4 separate regions of the Homo sapiens genome follow, and all the other regions are linked to region 3. Evidence: promoter capture Hi-C in human tissues and cell types (Jung and others, 2019). All regions are on one chromosome and are shown on one strand. Each heading gives the region's core, a stretch centred on a gene start or on the middle of the fragment in contact. The rest is flanking DNA. Distances are from core to core; before and after follow the strand shown.

Region 1 (3,218 bases), core at 30-2,529, 1.3 Mb after region 3:
GATTTTATTTTAAATAAGGAGAGCAAAATGTTTAGCAGGGGGTGTGATTTTAAGCACCCTCCATCTACTTGCCCCTTAAACTAACTGGCTTTCTGCAGATCCATTTATTAATTGATAGAACTTTAGACAAACATACACTGAAAACCTACCAATAATTAGAAACAGCTATAATGAACTGTGAGGAAAAGAACTGAATCCTTACCATATAATTTTCAATGATTCACTGTGGTAGGGAGGTAAATGATACAGGCACTGAAATCAGCTTCGCATAGTCAGAAATAGAATCCTTACAGAAGATGAGGAAGATGATACCCTGGAATGCTCTTTTCAAATAAATGATTTTGTTTTGGATAAATCAAACTGGCAAGGTTTCTACAAGGTTAAAAGCTCATTAATTTAGATGCCACAAATTCTGAACTCTTGATAATAAGGCCTGGTTTAAGCTAAACAGAATATTTAGAAAAAAAGCCTTTCTAGAATCTCAGTTTGCTGCATGTAGTTACTTAAGATATATTAATTATAAACGGTTCTTGGTATTTTTAAAAGCAGATTCCAAAGGGCCTCTGCTTGGCTGTATGTATATTAGCCTAGTTGGCAATTCTGTGTCTTCTTGGAAATAATACATGCTTTAAAATCATAGCCATGCTTTATTTACCCAGCATTGTTGAGGACTGGAATGTTCTACTCAGCAGGGTTATCTAGATGACAGACAGACAGAGCTAGAGGCTAAAACAGTGATGGAAAGTTATCACAGGAAGGGAACTTAACAGAACTCAATGTTCCTCAAATTCTTTCAGTAAAATCTTTGGGTTTCATTTGAAAATTCACCTCGATTTTACATTCTACTGAAAAATATTTGTGTTCATTTTCATATAAAAATATCTTCTCACTCCAAAATCTTTGGGTACACTGAGCGACCAGGAAGGTGTCTTGTTTGTATTCTGTGGTTTGACATCTTCATGAACCTCCGGTTGAGCAGCTGGTACAAATTCTTCACTTCTCCAGGAACAGATACAGAGAAGTAAAAGGATTTACCCAGATTTGTTAGAGAGAGCCAGGATTGGAATGTAAGCTTCTGGACAGCCAAGAGAGTGCTCCACGACAAGCCCACACTTACTCCCTCTGAGGAAGTGCTTTCAAACCTCCTACTCCTGAGGTGCCTGCTAAAAGGGACCATTCACATGGGTCACATGGCCTAAGAGATGATGAGGCTATTTCTACTCGATATGGGCCATGTAACATTGGTTGGCATCAAAGAGCTTGAATGAAATAACAAGTGTTGATACCCAAAGCCAACTTCAAGCTGACACATGAAAATGTTCCAAAGACTTTTTTTTTTTTTGAGACGGAGTCTCACTCTGTTGCCCAGGCTGGAGTGCAGTGGCGCGATCTCGGCTCACTGCAACCTCTGCCTCCTGGGTTCAAGCAATTCTCCTGCCTCAGCCTCCCCAGAAGCTGGAACTACAGGGGCCCGCCATCTCGCCTGGCTAATTTTTTGTATTTTTAGTAGAGACAGGGTTTCACTGTGTTAGCCAGGATGGTCTCGATCTCCTGACTTCATGATCCGCCTGCCTCAGCCTTCCAAATTGCTGGGATTACAGGCATGAGCCAACACGCCCGGCCTGTTTCAAAGACTTCTGAACAGTTTAGTGGATAAAAATTGAGAAATATAAGACATTTGAACTTTGGAAGCACAATGGAAAAACAGCAATAATCAACAATCCCCAGCCCAAAATTTAAAAGGAAGGTGATACAGAAAACATCAAATGGGAGAAGGAAGTTTCCTCTTCTTGGAGCCTGAATCAGATTACTGGCCAGGGCAGCTTCCAAGAAAGCAGATCTGGGCAAAGGACAGGAAAGATCAAACACGTGCCAATCATTCTCTCGATTTCTAATAGTATTGATCCACCAGTCACTGAGTACCTACTATGTGCTAGGCACTTTGCCTTTGCTGAGGATCAAGGCTGAAGATGTCCCGGGCTCAGCCCTCCAGAAACTCAAAGTCTGGTGGGAGCCACAGCCAGTGATTTGAGTCTCCTACTTGCGAAGTACAGGGTGCTACTGGTAGCACTTAGGAAAGGCACTTTAGTCCTGGGAGGTCCAGGGAGCCTTCTCAGAAAAAAGAAAAGCAGGAATTCATCAGATGGAGGGAAAGGGGAATGTGTGAGAGGAGCAGCATGTGCAGAGCGGAGGGGCAGAGCATGCTGTTCTGGGGAGTGGTGAGTAGCTCCAAAGGAGTGAGGTAGGCATGGGGTGCAGACTGGTAGATGAGACTGAGAGACAGGAGGCCAAACCTGAAGCCCCCATGCAGTAAGCTATGCTTGCAAGTCTGAACTTTCCTCTAAATGCTTTTAAGCACAATAAATGACATAATCAGATTCTTGTCTTAGAAAGGTCAGCTGCAGTGGACAATAGGGATGCTGATTAATTGAGGCTTGAAATAGACCTTCTGAAAGAAATTTCTATCACTTGACCTACTTGGATTTTTCTTCTTCTCAGCTGAAGCTTGCAAATTCTTTTTTTTTTTTTTTTTTTTTTACAGAGAGGAAAGAGGATGAACACAGACATTTAATGGACATGCATCACGCTTCCTCCCTGCCTATGCTAGACATTTTACTTAATAGGATTTTAAGTGGATGTCAAGCAACTTCCCACTGCACTGTTTAACAATTTGGTCTAATTCCAAGTGCTTTTTGTACTATATCATACAGATTCCTTTCAACAGTTATTACATTTTAATTACCGGGTATGGAAACCTCTCTGAGAGGAGTAACACATATTTCTACCTTCCTAAACATACCTACTGACCACAGTTTAATATTTGTTTTGAACAATCAGGGTCCTTGTTATGACTACTTATTACTATTTTAGTTTTAAAATGAATAACAACTCTTTTATTTCATCAAATAGTGTGTCAATGTTCCAATTTACAATTGTTTAGGATGTCCTAGGATTTTCTTTATAGTCTTTTTGTCTAAATTGGGATCCAAATAGGATCCACACATTGCAATTAATTTAGCTTTAAAAAATGTTTTATTCTGTAGATTCCCCTCCACTTCCTCACTATTTCTTGCAACTTACTTGTTGAAGAAATGGGGCATTGTGTCTGCAGAGTTATTCAGGGTCTGAATTTTGTCAACTACAAACATGTTCCTCTGTCTTTTGTATTTCCTATAAATTGGCTTTTCTGGAAGCTTGATCAGATTCAGATTTAATTT
Region 2 (3,229 bases), core at 502-3,001, 1.5 Mb after region 3:
TTTGGGAGGCCAAGGCAGGCAGATCACAAGGTCAGGAGTTCAAGACCAGCTTGGCCAATATAGTGAAACCCCATCTCTACTGAAAATACAAAAATTAGCTAGGAGTGGTGACATGTGCCTGTAGCCACAGCTACTCAGGAAGCTGAGGCAGAAGAACCGTTTGAACCGGGAGGCGGAGGTTGCAGTGAGCCGATATCATGCCACTGCACTCCAGCCTGGGCAAAAGAGCGAGACTCCATCTCAAAAAAAAAAAAAAAATGTTCATTGCAGTTTGTTTACCATATAGCCTGTTTGGAGAGAATAGGTCAACAGAAAAGCAGATGCTGACAATTTCTCTTTTACAAGGAATGGAAGAATGGAGGGTTGCTAGCTAGACAAGGAGAGCAGAAGACTATTTGAAGAAGGCAGGAAATAAAAGTCAGATGGATGCTAGGGCAGTTTGAAGTATTAAAAAATATATTCTACACAGTGTCAGTAAGTCTCCATTTAAAAGATATTTACTGTAATCCCAGCACTTTGGGAGGCCAAGGCAGTAGGATTGCTTGAGGCTAGGTGTTTGAGACCAGCCTGAGCAATGTAGCAAGGCCTTGTCCTCAATTTTAAAAATAAATAAATAAGAGAAATTTGGATTTCAGATGGCAATACTGATGTCCTATTAAGTTGGTTTCAAAAAACTTCTGCACAAACTTAATGCTGGAAGCAATAATTCTTATTTAGATTTATTCAATTCTCCAGATCAAGAAACACAAAAGGTTGTTTGGAAGAAAAATATATTTTATTTTAAAAACTGGATTCGTCCACCAGGAAAAATGAGTGAGTAAAGACTGAAAAATTAAAAACTTAAAAATGTAAAAGCTTTTTAGAACTGGATTAATATATAACACACTTTAGACATTCTGTTTTGTCTGAAAATAAACTTTAACTCTTCTGTAATAATAAGCCAACACTATAAGGATGCAAACAAAGTAATATAGAGTTGCCAATAATTATTAATGTTTTTTGGCTGTAATTCCTGGGCTATTTTATATAATTGTACATTTGGTTCTGCCTAGACATGCTATTCAGCTGGATTCATAAAACATACCACACTACCACACAAGTGCTGGCAGACCAATGTATAATAAACAGTTATCCACTGTAATATTTTAGTACATAAAATTGATAGGGTTGTATTTTTAATATAAGATGTTGAATACTTGTATCAATAAGAATTTCTTACATTTATTGCAAGCTTTTCAAACACAAATCTAAGCATATCATGAATGATGGATCAGTTAATGCGTGTCTGTTCTCTCTCATCTGATTTGCTCGTCTCTTTGCTTTTTTACCGTGGCTGCTTTTGTGCTATCCATGTACTATGCTCTTGCAGTTATACCACACAACAACTTGAGATGTTGTTTTACACATATTAGTAAAAGAAATATCTCAACACCAGGGTTCTGTCTCAGAGGATTGTTAAAAACTGTTTAGACCAAATTGCCAATTAAAAAATGATATTGCATGTGAAATAAAATAATTTACGTTTTTCCCTTTAGCTGTAAAAACAAAATCGCACACAATTTCTAAATACCATAAACACAATAGTAAATGAAAGAGTTTTGTCCAAACTAGTTAAGATGTCAAACCAACCAACAATAACCACCAAAAGTATATTAAACAAGTAATATATAAGTAAGAATACATCCTGCTACCGTAATATGTGAAGGGAAAGGCATCATAAATACTTGGAAAAAACAAGAAGGAACAATTTAACATAATGACTCAGGCATTGAAAGCAAACATATGTAGGTTCAAATCTCAGCTCAGGCCCTTACGAACTATGTGACCTTGTAGAAACCAATTTACCCTTATTAGTAACATGAGAACATCCACTGACATCTCACAGGATGATTTTAAAGATTAAATACTACATGCCAAAGTCTTTAGCAAAGTCCCACATATAAATTAAATTAAATAATAATGGTAAACATTATTATTATTGCTAACTTAAACTTCTTTCAATAAGCATTCGGAATTACCAAAAGACCATAACCTAAGATAATCAAATTTAATCATAAAAATCACACCAATTAAATCACACCAATTTCTAGTTTAGGAATTTTGTCTCGTGATCATATGGAACTCCAAAGAATTCTAAACTATAAACAAGCAATACAGACAGCGGGAATAAGCCATTCTTCCTCCTTTCTCCTAGTCCAAATAATTTAAGAAAAGGGATGAAAAAAAGCAAGAAAAACAATCATTTGGAATCAATCACTTCGCCATTCACTTGATCAAACAATGGCATACATTCAATCACAGCTAAAGATAAAACTAAACAATTTGCAAGTAAAGTTACAAAACTGCACACTCATTTCCTCTAACCTGTAAACCAACTTGTTACAGTTAACACTATAATGATTTTCTGAGACAGAATGCAACTATTCAAACAAGTATCTGTACATGATAAAAATATGAACTTAGTAAAAAGGCATGGCATTCTATCTCATTCAAATCTTCACTTGTACATTCACTCATGAAGGATCTAGCAGGTTCTGGCTCTGTGTCAGCCCCTGTCAAATATTAATAAGGCAATAAGGGTAATCCCTGCAGGAATACAGTATCCGTGAAAGTGTAAAGAACCTGTGACATCAGGTGTCCCGTCTCACTCAGCACATGATTCTGAACCTCCACAGTAAAAGGGCAGATAAAGGGAGTAACCGCAGTGACACCGGGTAGACAGAGCCAGAGCTTATAGGGCCCATCTCATGTGTGCTTTATCTGATCTTCATCTTGAAAGCTATGGTTTTATAATAAACAGCTTTTTGTTGTTTCTCCTTTTATTTATGGTACTCATTTGTTTAATCAGCATATTTGTTCAGTTGTAAGAAAATAAACTCTATACTGCCTTTGCACCCAATCAGGCACCAATTTCTAAGTGTCCATTTTCTAAGTGTCTATTCCATTCTTCGAAGATAGTTCCAAGACCACCTTCTCCAGAAAGCAGAAGCCTTCAATTAAAAAAATCACCTCTTTGCTGCTATGGTATTACATTTAATGATATTTGTACCTTTAATTAGATGCTTTAATTAAAATGTTTACTTAATATTAATATAAGAAAGTATAAATCAAGAACAACTCTCCATACAATTCCCTAATAGTCCTTTATCTGAGATTCAATAACTGCCAATCCACTTTTATATATTACTGGCGCCCAGGATAGCTAAAGAGTTGACAGAGAGTTGTTCAA
Region 3 (3,374 bases), core at 1-2,500:
AACAGGGATTCCACCTCTGTTGGTAGGACCCCCAGGCCTGGTTACCCACAGAACACCACCTCAGGCCGGGCGCGGTGGCTCACGCCTGTAATCCCAGCACTTTGGGAGGCCGAGGCGGGCGGATCACGAGGTCAGGAGATCGAGACCATCCTGGCTAACACGGTGAAACCCCGTCTCTACTAAAAATACAAAAAATTAGCCGGGCGAGGTGGTGGTCGCCTGTAGCCCCAGCTACGCGGGAAGCTGAGGCAGGAGAATGGCGTGAACCCCGGGGGCGGAGGCTGCAGTGAGTCGAGATCGTGCCACTGCACTCCAGCCTGGGCGACAGCGAGACTCCGCCTCAAAAAAAAAAAAAAAAAAAAAAAAAAAAGAACACCACCGCGACTCTAATTTCCATCGTTATTTAAAATCAGAGTTTGGGACTTTGGAATTGTTTCCTCTAGGAAGCCGTCCCCTCAGTTTTCTTTGCTTCTGGCTGCGCTGCTGGAGTCACAAGACAATGCCTGTAGAACACCATGGTGAAAGGCGTCATGGTTTCTGAAGCCCCCGGGGAGCCCACGAGGCGTGGCTTTCTCGCTAACTCACAACTCAGAGTGGAGGCGAGGGCCAAACCCAGGCCCCATCACTTGCTAGTTGTGCGCTACCCCGACGGACAACCAAACTGCACCCCTTTCTGCGTCTGACAAGGACATCATAGCGCTGGCAAATGTTAGCGCCTGTGAAGCCGGCAGCACAGAGCCGGCCACTTCGTAAGCTTCAACCACACCTAACCTGTTATGCTGACCTGAACATTCACAGGGGACACCGCCCCAAGGCCCGCAGCCCAGCCCCCGCCAGGTGTCGGGTGGGGCCTTCAGCAGCAGGTCTCAGAGAAGCGCTTAGAGAAACGCCCTCAGCGGCGACACTCGGGGTGCCCTCCCTGCGTGTTTACGGTTGCAGCACTGATCCGGCCGGAGGGCCCCACGCGCCCCAGAACGGGCGGAGCGCGCCGGCCCAGCTGCCACCTAGGCCCGGTGGCGCCGGCGTTCCACGTGCTCACTCCTCCCCGCCCCTCCCCGCCCCTTTCCCTGGCCTTCCTCGCCGCGCCTGTCTCCCACCCCGAGCTCTGCAGCGGGAGCGCGGCAGCCCTCGAATCGATGCCAGTAGGCACCCCAGGCAGCACAGTCTTACCTGTTCAGCGTGTCCCTTCCGGATTCCCCTCCGGCTCAGCTCTGCAGGAGTTGGAGCGAAGCGTGCAAGGACCCGGAAAGACCAAGGTGTAGCGTCAGCCAGTTAGGTGGATGCGTTTTGGTGTTGTAGCAGCCGATAGGGCTATAGCGGCCGTTCTTTCCTTCTCACTGGACGCGGCTTCTGTCTGTCGACGTCAATAGGGACGATCTCATGAAGAAGGCGGGGAGTGGGGCTTCGGCTCCTCCCAGGCCTGGCCTGTCTGGGGCGGATGCACGTGGAGGCTGGTCATGGAGCGCTTGGGGGTGGGGCCAGGCGCACGCGGGGGCGGGGCCGGGGGCTGCTCCCGGAGCAGCGGAACTGTCTGGAGACCCTTTCGTGAGAGACCGTGTCTTCCTCCCTCCGCAGGGTGATGCGGCCCTGGAGAAGTCCTCTCGCTGTAGTGGAAAGAGCGAAGGAGTCTGTGAGGCGAGGGACAGAAGTAACGTGATGTTACGACTGGCGGCGAAGTCTTCGGCAGTGGCCTCAGGCGGCCGAGGCCGCTGCCCTGGGTCTGCGTTCAGGGTGTAGCGTAGCGAGCCCTGACCGTGAAACCGGGGGGCCTCCGTGTTGGCTCCAGTACTGCTGCTTGCTGTGGGACCTAGGGCGAGTCTCTTCCCTTCTCTGTGCCTTGATTTCTTCTGTTGAGAGAAGGAATCGGATCTATCATTCTCATGTCCTCTCCAGCTTAGAGTTTGTTCAGACCACCAATATTTCTAGAATGACCTATGTGTGCTGTGCCTGTCCCAGGTATCAGCTGACGGTTATGAGATCTTATGAAAGGAAAACGGAAGCCTCTGATGGGCTTGTGTCCCGAAGAGACAGTTTGTGAGGACAGCTGGATTCACAGAGGCTAGGCTTGTTGGGGTCCAGCAGTAGGCCTGGTGTGTCATGCGGCTCCGTAACACAGGCCCCTGCCCGCGGCTTGGACCCGTTAGAAAGCAGGCGGTGGGGTTCACCCATTGCACGCCGTGCGAAGGCATTTCAGCTCTTAACCAGGAAGCTAGGATTTCAGGCTAAACTCCTGGCTCTCAGGAGTTTATAGATAAATGCAGTATGTGGAGCGGGGCCGGGTGATGAGGGAAATGAGAGAAGTGGGCATAGTCAGAATAAAGAACCGCTTCATGAAGCTTGAGCGGCCTTGAAGAGAAGGCAGAGAAAAATTCTAGCTGAACAAACAACGTGACTGGAGGCCGGTTCAAGCCGGCTGGATGGGAGGGGAGTCTTGGAAGGAAAACTCAGCAGGGTGGGTTGGGGCTTGGTGACGCAGCAATTGCCAGGGAAAGAGTAGTCAGGCCGGGTGCAGTGGCTCACGCCTGAAATCCCAGCACATTGGGAGGTTGAGGCGGGTGGATCACTTGAGGCTAGGAGTTCCAGACCAGCCTGGCCAACATGGCGAAACCCCCAACTCTACTAAAAATACAAAAAATTAGCCGGGCGTGGTGGCGGGCGCCTGTAATCCCAGCTACTCAGGAGGCTGAGGCAGGAGAATTGCTTGAACCCGGGAGGCGGGGGTTGCAGTGAGCCGAGATAGCGCCATTGCACTCCAGCCTGGGTGACAGAGTGAGACCCTGTCTCAAGAAAAAAAAAAGTAGACAATGGGAGGCTCTGAGGGTTCTAGAGTTGGGAAGTGACAGGACTAGAGCTGTGCTTCTGGGAAATCACCGTGTAGGGGGTTGGGGAGAAAAGATTGTGGAAGTCAGCTGGGAGACCCCTAAGGAACTTATTGCAGCAACAGTCCTTGTGAAAGGTAGTGAGGGCCAAACCAGGGTGGGGGTAGCCAGGATGGAAGGGGGGTACAGATGGGAGGCAGAATTCAGAGGGAGAATCGGCCAGACTTAACTCTCGGGGAGGAGTCAAGCTGGATTTTCCACTGAAGAGCCAGGGGACACTTGAGGAAGGTGGCAGGAGGAGTTGGCTTGGGCTTGCTGAGTCAATGAGTGGCTGGCAGCCGGCCAGCAGGCTCTGTTGAATGTCCACAGAGGGGACAGTGACGTGGGCATGAGATATACCTCGGGGACCTGCAACACACACAGATGAAAGATTAAAGAATGTTTGCAAATCAGTGAACAAATGAAGCTTGCTGGGCCTTGGGCAAGTCATGAGGCATTCCAACCTCAGTTTCTTCACAGATTAGAATGAGGATAAGACATCTACTGAGAAAGGTT
Region 4 (3,359 bases), core at 654-3,153, 1.3 Mb after region 3:
CTTCCCAGGGCCCAGGACTCCAACAACTGTACAGCCCACTGCCAACATTACTGGTATCCAAGCAAGCTACCTGTAGCCCCAGAATTAACCTGCCAGGACCTGCTGGCACAAGTGCTGGTGTTTGCTGCCCTGAGGCCCAGACACACACAGACTCAGTCCAACACTGCTACCACTGGACTCGACGATTGGCCCACCTCCTAGGCACCAGCAAAAGTTCAGCAGAGCCTCCATTAACAACTGTACCCTAAGTTATTGAGGAAATCACAGACACAACTTATGCTGTTTACAGACAAAGACATTATACAGAGACTATACTACTACATGCACCCAGAATCAAAGTCAAAATGCCCTACCCAATCAGCACTACAGATACATTTTCAGAAAAAGTCCGTCCCCATGAAAGTAAACTCAAAAAACTTCAAGAAGCAACTGTTACATCAGATGTGTACATAGTAATGTAAGGACATAGAAACCATGAAAAAACTAAGAAATATGACATCTTAAAAGGAATAGAATTAAGTCTCCAGCAACAGATCCCAAACAAAAAGAAATATACAAAATCCTAGAAAAAGAATTCAAAATGTTGATTAATGAAGCTCAGTGAAATACAACCAAATACTGAAAAACAACACAAATATATCAGAATATGAATGAGAAATTTACCAAAGAGATAGAAATTATAAAAAGAAACAAACAGAAATATTAGAAGTGAGGAATTCATTGAATGAAATACAAAATACATTTGAAAGCAACAACAATAGACTAGATTAAGCAGAAAAAAAAGAACCTCAGTACTTGACGACAGATCTTTTGAAATAACATAGTCAGTCAAAAATTGCAAAAAAAGAATAAAAAAATGCAAAGCTTATGTGACATGAGACATTATAAAGCAATCAAATATTCAAATTTTCAGAGTCCCAGAAGGTGAAAAGAAAATCAAAGGGTTAGAAAATATATTTAATGAAATAATAAGATAAAAACATTCCAAGTCTAGCAAGAGATTTAGATATCCAGATACAGGAAGCTTACAGATCCCCAAACAGAAACAATAAAAAAGGGTCTTCTCCACAGCACATTTTGGTCAAACCATCAAAAGCCAAAGACAAAAATAGCAAGAGAAAAGTGTGTAGTCACTTATAAAGGGACCCCCATCAGACTAACAGTGGATTCTAAGCAGAAAACTTATAAGCCAGTAGAGAATGGGAAGATATATTAGAAGTGCTGGGGAAAAAAAAGAAAAAAAATAAATAAATAAACCTGTCAGCCAAGGCTACTATACTCAGCAGTTATCCTTCATAAATGAAGGAAAAAGAGTCTTTCCAAGACAAGCAAAAGCTGAGATAACTCATCTTTTTTTAGTGTTAAATTCAGTGCTAAAAAAAAATGCTTAAGTGAGTCCTAGCCCTGGAAGTGAAAGAATGATAACTACTACCAACATGAAAACACACAAAAATGTTACCACTCCAGAAATCCACCAAACTTGGCCAGGTGCAGTGGCTCCCACCTGTAATCCCAGCACTCTGGGAGGTTGAGGCAGAAAGAATGCTTGAACCTAGTAGTTTGAGACCAGCTTGGGCAACATAGTGAGACTTCATCCCTAGAAACAAATTTTTAAAAAAATTAGCTAAGGCCAGGTGCAGTTGCTCAAACCTATATTGTTCTAGCACTGTGGGAGGCTGGAGCAGATGGCTTGAGCTCAGGAGTTCAAGACCAGCCAGGGCAACATGGTGAAACCTCATCTCTATAAAAAAATATAAAAGTGAGCCAGGCGTGGTGGCATGTGCCCATAGTCCCAGCTACTCAGGGGGCTGAGGCAGGAGGATCACTTGAGCCTGGGAGGCAAGAGGTTGCAGTTAGCTGAGATCAGGCCTCTACACTCTAGTCTGGTTGAGAGAGCAAAACTTTGTCTCAAAAAAAAAAAAATTTATATATATATAAATATATATAAATATATCTATATATAAATATATATAAATATATATAGATATATAAATATATATATATTTATATATATCTTGCTCTTGCTCTGTTGCCCAGGCTAGAGTGCAGTGGTGCAATCTCGGCTCACCGCAACCTCCACCTCCCAGGTTCAAGTGATTCTCCTGCCTCAGCCTCCTGAGTAGCTGGGATTACACGCACGTGCCTGGCTGATTTTTTTGTATTTTTAGCAGAGATGGGGTCTCACCATCTTGGCCAGGCTGGTCTCGAACTCCTGACCTCGTGATCCACCCGCCTCGGCCTCCCAAAGTGCTGGGATTACAGGCGTGGGCCACTATGCCCGGCTATATTTCTTTTTAATTAGTAAGGCATGGTGGCACATGCCTGTAGTCCTAGATATTCAGGAGGCTGAGGTGGGAGGATCACTTAAAGCCTGGGAGTTCAAGGCTGCAGTAGGCCATGATCACACCACTGTACTCTGGCCTAAATAACAGAGTAAGCATCTGTCTCAAAAGAAAGAAAAAAAAAGAAAACCACCAAATCACAGTGGTAAATAACATGAGAAAGAAACCGATATATAAAATAACTAGAAATCAATTAATAAAGTGACAGAAATATGTCCCCCCTATAAATAATAACCTTGAATGTAAATAGATTACATTTTCCACAGAAAAGATATAGATCGGCTGATTTGAAAAAAAATATATATATGATCCAACTATATAATATCCACAAGAAACTCATCTTACCTCTGAAGAAACATACAAACTACAGTAATAGGATAAAAAAGGTATTCCATGGAAATGGAAACCAAAAGTGAGCAGGAATAGGTAGACTTAGATAAAACAGACTTTAAGTCAAACAAAGTAAGAGACAATGAAGGCCATTATATAAGATAGATCAACTCAGCAAAAAGATGTAACAATTCTAAACATATCTGCACTCACCACCAGAGCACCCAGATACATAAACAAAACATTATTAGATTTAAAGAGAAAGACTCCAATACTATTATAGTTAGAGCAGTGGTCCCCAACCTTTTTGGCACCAGGAACAGGTTTCATGGAAGACAATTTTTCCATGGATGGTGGGGACAGGGGACAGGCATTAGATTCTAATAAGGAGGGCACAACCTAGATCCCTCGCATGTGCAGTTCACAGTAGGGTTCATTTGCGCTCCTATGAGAATTTAATGCCGACGCTGTTCTGACTAGAGGCAGAGCTTAGGTGATAATGCTGGCTCACCTGCTGCTCACCTCCTGCTGCGCAGCCTGGTTCCTAACAGGCCACAGACCAGTGGTTGGGGACTCCTGAGTTAGAGACTTCAATACCCTACTCTCATCCTTAGACAGATCATCCAGACAGAAAATCAATAAAGAAACACTGAATTTAAGCTACACATTAGACCAAATGGATATAAC

The links. Contacts are between HindIII fragments. The study calls those that stand out against the background at their distance.
Region 1: a fragment that was not itself captured here is called in contact with the fragment with the promoter of DCAF4 in region 3 in 1 of the 25 tissues and cell types used here (dorsolateral prefrontal cortex).
Region 2: a contact is called between a fragment that was not itself captured here and the fragment with the promoter of DCAF4 in region 3, in 1 of the 25 tissues and cell types used here (aorta).
Region 4: a contact is called between a fragment that was not itself captured here and the fragment with the promoter of DCAF4 in region 3, in 1 of the 25 tissues and cell types used here (dorsolateral prefrontal cortex).

Annotation. Positions count from the first base shown.
Region 1 is chr14:71,666,189-71,669,406 of GRCh38, reverse strand. The region is part of intron 10 of SIPA1L1 (signal induced proliferation associated 1 like 1); the gene reads right to left. Among named protein-coding and RNA genes, the nearest start is that of RGS6, 260 kb to the left of the region's middle. The HindIII fragment of the contact is 5,487 bases long and covers 1-3,218 here.
Region 2 is chr14:71,454,331-71,457,559 of GRCh38, reverse strand. All of the region lies in intron 2 of SIPA1L1 (signal induced proliferation associated 1 like 1), which reads right to left. Among named protein-coding and RNA genes, the nearest start is that of SNORD56B, 58 kb to the right of the region's middle. The HindIII fragment of the contact is 3,250 bases long and covers 127-3,229 here.
Region 3 is chr14:72,924,340-72,927,713 of GRCh38, reverse strand. DCAF4 (DDB1 and CUL4 associated factor 4) reads right to left here and starts at 1,250. Exons shown (of 14, transcript NM_015604.4): 1 at 1,171-1,250. RefSeq lists enhancers at 1-540, 1,212-1,481, 1,772-1,871, 2,272-3,138 and a silencer at 982-1,041. The HindIII fragment of the contact is 2,487 bases long and covers 325-2,811 here.
Region 4 is chr14:71,602,566-71,605,924 of GRCh38, reverse strand. The region is part of intron 5 of SIPA1L1 (signal induced proliferation associated 1 like 1); the gene reads right to left. Among named protein-coding and RNA genes, the nearest start is that of SNORD56B, 210 kb to the right of the region's middle. RefSeq lists an enhancer at 1-463. The HindIII fragment of the contact is 3,041 bases long and covers 383-3,359 here.